Regions from separate parts of the Homo sapiens genome. Here region 2 is linked to region 1. Evidence: promoter capture Hi-C in 16 types of primary human blood cells and fetal thymus (Javierre and others, 2016). All regions are on one chromosome and are shown on one strand. Each heading gives the region's core, a stretch centred on a gene start or on the middle of the fragment in contact. The rest is flanking DNA. Distances are from core to core; before and after follow the strand shown. Region 1 holds the start of LRRC57 (leucine rich repeat containing 57). Region 2 overlaps STARD9 (StAR related lipid transfer domain containing 9).

Region 1 (2,700 bases), core at 54-2,553:
TCAGTTTAACTTTTCTGTTTTCTTTTTAGTGAAATTTCTCAACTTCCTCTATATATCAAAATTTATTTCCCCATTTTTCTCAATGCCCTTGATCCCACTTGCCCCATGCCCTCCTGTCACTGCATTCCATTATTTCCTCACATGTTCAATTTCTCCCTCTGTTGGCTCCTTCCTCCGACATGCTCCTCTTGCCCAACCTAAAACTGCCACTCCGTGACTCCTTGGGTTAATGTCTCTTTTCTCTCCTTCTCAAAATTAATCTCTTCCTCCATTCACGTTCCAAGGTCTTATCTTTTTAGCCAATACTTTTTTTTTTTTTTTTTTTTTTTTGCCTTTAAAGATGCCAAGGCCGGGCGCGGTGGCTCACGCCTGTAATCCCAGCACTTTGGGAGGCCGAGGCGGGTGGATCACGAGGTCAGGAGATCGGGACCATCCTGGCTTACAAGGTGAAACCCCGTCTCTACTAAACATACAAAAAAAAATTAGCTGGGTGTGGTGGTGGGCGCCTGTAGTCCCAGCTACTCCAGAGGCTGAGGCAGGAGAATCGCTTGAACCAGGAAGGCGGAGGTTGCAGTGAGCCGAGACCACGCCACTGCACTCCAGCCTGGGCGTTAGAGCGAGACTCTGTCTCATATAAATAAATAAATAAATAATAAAATAAAATAAAAATGTCAAAAAAGAGCTTCTGGCGCTCTTCTCTACCCAGCACCTCCCGCCCCAAATACGATTCAACACTTCCCACAAACGAGGGTTGTTGGAAATGCTTGTTCCGCAAGGGGACAGAACGACCCGTATTTCCCATCCCCGCCCTTACACTACAGTCTAGAGGCAGTATCACTGGATGAAAAAAAGGCTGGTAACAGTCTAATCTCCCACAAACTGGACTGGGACAAATTTACCCTACAGACACTCAAAACACAGTCTACCCTAAACACCATCTACTCAGATCCCCGCTTTCCAAGCATCCACGGCAGAACGTTCGCGGCTGTTGCCTGGAAGGGGCTCTTATTACTCTAGTACAGACCCCAACCAGGACCCTCACCACTCCCACAGCCAGCAGCACCAACTCACAGCCATATTGTTGCCACCTTGGGCACCCCCTTGATGACACCACCGCCACCCCCACGTACCTGATTGACCATCCCCGAAGCTATGAAGTGGCCTAGCACTAGCCCAGCGCCGTTAGGCGCGGACGCCGGGTCCCACGGGTTGGCAGCGGCCATGGCTCGGACGCACCTTCCGCGAAGGCGCCAAGAGTGAGCGGGATCGCAGGGCGAACGCACGGCGCGGCTCGATGACGTCACAGGGCGTTCCCGCCCGGGACTAAGCCGGGGAGCGCATCCCGGCTACTGCGGGTCCTGGGTCTTCACCTGCGGAGCCTTACGGCAGCTGAGCGGTGGGAGGCGAGTCCGGGGCTCCCTGATCTTCCGTAGGCTCCCAGAGGCGCCTGGCCTCCGCAGAGCTGCAAAGGCGGCAGGGCTTGGTGGTCGGGCTGTGTGTTCTTCCGTTTCTTCCTTGTCGCTCTTGGGTCGGGCCCCAGGAGCCAGGGATCGGCGGGAGTTGAGAGCTGGGGCAGGAGCCCCAGCCGGGAGGCCGACCGGGTGGACTGGGCGGTGACAGCAGCGCTTCCTTCCCGCAGGGACCTGAGCCGCGGCGCTAGGATGGGAAACAGTGCGCTCCGCGCTCATGTGGAAACGGCGCAGAAAACTGGTGTCTTTCAGCTTAAGGACCGAGGGCTGACCGAGGTGAGACTGGGAGGGACACGACCAGGGAACTTAAAGGGAGAGGGACGGCGGGGGCGGCGAACTTAGTCGGTGCGGGATTCCCCACGCTGTGAACTCCTTTCTCCAGTTCCCCGCAGACTTGCAGAAGCTGACGAGCAATCTCAGGACCATCGACTTGTCCAACAACAAGATCGAAAGCCTACCGCCTTTGCTGATAGGAAAGTTCACTCTGCTGAAGAGCCTCTCCCTGAACAACAACAAACTGAGTATGGCTCTCGCCAGGGAGGCTTTTGCTAGTGATCAGCTGTTACCAGGGGTGGTTTTCTCTTACAAGCTGATTTTTGTTTTTGTTATGAAACCGTGCAGGAGGGCTCAAGTTGCGAATGCCGGAATCCTTGAAGCCTTCTTTCTACTTCTTGTAATTACATCTAAAATAAGCCTTATAATGATTGGGTGTTATAATGATTGTTACTGGGTTAATTTGGACTTGAAAGAGAAGAACATTTTGGGGATGTAATGTAAACAAAGCTACCTAACTTGGAATGGGGGATGGATGAGAAGGGGAGGATCTTCCAAATATCACAAAATTGCTGTCGGATTGTGCCTTGGGCCCCTTTACAAAAGGAGCCCATTATACACACAAATGCTCTCCGGCATTTTGATGGCACCCTCACCTTCTAAAGACTATGTTGGTAAAATGCAATATCTAAAAATGGCACATGTGGGAGTTTTACATATATTAACAAGAGGCGAAGCAGGCTGCCATATAGTCTTTATAAACTTCATCAAAGTTGTTTTCAGCTCTATCACATTCAGGTTTTAAAAAAATTTTTCTTTGCCAGCTGTTCTGCCTGATGAGATATGCAATCTGAAAAAACTAGAGACGCTAAGCCTAAACAACAATCACCTTAGAGAGCTGCCGTCTACCTTTGGGCAACTCTCTGCCCTCAAGACCCTGAGCCTCTCTGGGAACCAA
Region 2 (2,862 bases), core at 92-2,591, 140 kb before region 1:
TTGGTCTTTGATCTGGCAGTGGAATTGGCCTGGAATGTTTGCTGCCAGCCCTGCAGACTTCTGTCAACCCAGACCCAACACTCTCCTTACACTGCACACACTGCTGTGTGGGAGCTTCCAGTGCAACCCTTGTCAGAGCTCCAGGCAGAATGGTATCTTGTTTGGGACTTGCCCTACCTTCTTCAAAGCCAGTAGAAGCCTCAGGGCATTGGACATGGTCTTGCTTAGGCCCTGAGGCACTTGTAGAATTCTGAACATCACAGGTCACAGACTGACTTTCAAAATGGGCTGTTTTTTCTCCCTGTGCAGTCACTAACAAATTATCTGAAACTTCTCCATATGTGGTGTCTAGAGTTCTGGGTTCCTGATGCTCTGGGCTGCTGTCCTGACTGCCAGGGGGTATGCCCTCTGCAGTCTCCTGCGGAACTGACTGACTTAGCTCATGCAGAGTCACTCTAGGATCATCATAAGGGGCCTGAGAAGGTAAGGCAGCCACTACCTTCTTTGATACTACCCTCCTGACCTCCTCCACAGGTGCTGAAGAACGAGGACTGTCTGGGGCCAAAGGATCAGCTGAGGAAGGTGTTCTGGTTGCATCTTTCTTTTTCTCTATGATTTCAGAAGAACTAGAGTGACATATAAATGGTTCACTTGCTCCCGCGAACTGCCTCAGTTCTCCAGTACGACGTTTCCTGTCTTGAGCAGGAGCAGCATGGGAGAAAGCCTGCACAGGATCCCATGGCTCTCTGTCAGTTTCCGTATTGGGCAGAGATTCAAAGCTGTCTGCAGACAGAGATGTGGCCTGGACTTTCCTCTCATCAGGTAACAGATCTATCTGCCCTGCTTCAGCAGATAGAGATGCCACATGAAATCCCGGTGCTTCACCCTCATTCCTGGTCTGGTCTGATGATGACTGGTCTATTTGTTTACACTGAGGCCTGCCAGCAACCCTTGAAGAACATTCGGGTTCTAGTAAAGTTTCACAGTAAGAAAGGACTGTGCCCCTGGCCACAAAGTCATGAAGCTGCTTTCTCTGGGCCTTTGCCTGTCTGATCTCCTCCAAGATGGCCAGGCACATGGATGCATGGTCAGAGGGCTCCAACAGCCTAGGCTCTGGACTGGGCACCCTCGGCAGGGAAACAGGTGCTAAGGAAACACCGCTGGTCAGTCCGACGTCCTCAGTCTCCTTCTCTGCCTTCTGCCTTGGCTTGCTGGCTTGGTCACTATCCTCTTCCAAGGAGAAGCTGACCCTCTTTTCAGGCTGGCTAGAGACCTTGTTCAGTGAACTGACTCTTATTTCTTTTTGTACAGCCACCTCGGCTTCAGAAGCAAAATCTTCACTGGTACTGAAACCCAGCAAGGTGATTCTGAGGTCCTTTCCATGGTCTTGGGGGCTGGTGCTTGCTGAGATCCTGTCCTCTGTCCCCAGAGGAATGCTCTCTGGTACACCAGATTGACTATGAGATCCCATGGCCATGGATCGCACAGACCCACACCAGGCAGTGTGTGCCTCAGAGGAACGCCCTCTAACATTTCCTTCGGGGCTGTGGCTTCTGGTCTCCGTACTCTGGTCCTGATGCTCTACTCCAGTTACCAAGGGACTGTTATGAATTTTCAACATTGTGAGATCCAGCACACAGTCAAGTGAAGAGATGCCTAGAGCAACAGGTACATGAAGACACCTTCTTGGCCACCTTGGAGAATTCAAGGGCAAGGTATTACTCAGGTCTTGGTGAAGAGGAGCTGTACAGAATTCTGTCCGGCTTAGTAATGGGCTGACAGTTTCCTGCCTGAAAAACGTGTCCCTACAAAGCTGGCTGAGACTAGGAAATTTCTGAGTCACTTTATTTTCTTCCTGAAGGCTGCCTCCCCTTTGCATAGGCATTTCTTCAACTTTACCTTGAGCTTTTGGCTCTTCTTGGTTGGAACTACTTACGTGTTCAGCTACTTGGCTTTCCTGAAAACCTTTCACAGTCTCCAATTCCTCAAGACTTCCTAAGCCCCAAGGCTGCCCTTTGAGACTTGCTGATGCTTTTACAAACTGGCCATTATTCTTAGAAGACCTCTCTAGCCTGGGTTGCAATGGCAGAGCTCTAGCCAATGCTTTCATTCTCTGTGGGTGAAGAGAAGTGTTGGTGAACTCTCTGCAAGTTGTGTGTTTCCCTAAAGAATCACAAATATCCCTGGCAGGTCTGTCCGATCCAGCTGGGTGGGTGTGCTCTCTCACAGGTTCACTCTCTCGTACACCTTCCCTTGACCTGAAGGGGTTTGGGGTGATTTTCTGGACCTGGGGATGGTTCCCAATGCTGTTAACCTCCATCGCTCCAGCTTCACTATCCCTAAAGACAGTATCATCTGTCTGTCTTGGAGAAGATGGCTGATCCTTAGAGGGCAAAGGGTTTCCAGAGCTGTCTGGCCTAAAGGCATGGTCAGTCTTCTCCTGCTCCTTCTGGTCCTGGAACACCAACTCCTTATCGGTTCCTGGTGTGTGGGAAGCATGAACCTGCTTATTCTGCTTAGATTCAATTTCTAAGATGCCATTTTCCAGCTGCATTACACTCCTAATTAGCCTAGCCATTTCATCAGTATTATTAACTCTTTTATTCTGTTTCTTTCCAGAAGGTTCTCTGTTGGGATTTAACATTTCTTGTGACTTGCATTCACTGGGGTTTCTTTCCTGAGGGCATGCAACTAACTGGAACCTTTCATATGCAGGCTTTGTACCTGGAAGCTTAAACTCTTCTGAGCTATCTTTGGGACGAAGACCTTTTTCAAGAAGCCCAGTTTCATTTTTCCCTTCCCACTTAGGGGTTGGGCCACCACCCTGGGCCACCATCACTGGGCTGCTTACTCTACGATCTA

What was found. The method cuts DNA at HindIII sites, captures the fragments that hold promoters and counts their contacts. A CHiCAGO score of 5 or more calls a contact.
Region 2: a contact is called between a fragment that was not itself captured here and the fragment with the promoter of LRRC57 in region 1, in 1 of 17 cell types (endothelial precursors). The highest score is 6.0, in endothelial precursors.

Annotation. Positions count from the first base shown.
Region 1 is chr15:42,547,396-42,550,095 of GRCh38, reverse strand. It overlaps LRRC57 (leucine rich repeat containing 57), which reads left to right and starts at 1,303. Exons shown (of 6, transcript NM_153260.3): 1 at 1,303-1,403; 2 at 1,640-1,745; 3 at 1,852-1,990; 4 at 2,567-2,700. The coding sequence starts at 1,662. It overlaps HAUS2 (HAUS augmin like complex subunit 2), which reads right to left and starts at 1,258. Exons shown (of 6, transcript NM_018097.3): 1 at 1,131-1,258. The coding sequence starts at 1,223. RefSeq lists an enhancer at 998-1,467. The HindIII fragment of the contact is 3,855 bases long and covers 1-2,700 here.
Region 2 is chr15:42,687,433-42,690,294 of GRCh38, reverse strand. It overlaps STARD9 (StAR related lipid transfer domain containing 9), which reads right to left. Exons shown (of 33, transcript NM_020759.3): 23 at 1-2,862. Among named protein-coding and RNA genes, the nearest start is that of CDAN1, 48 kb to the left of the region's middle. The HindIII fragment of the contact is 2,785 bases long and covers 1-2,733 here.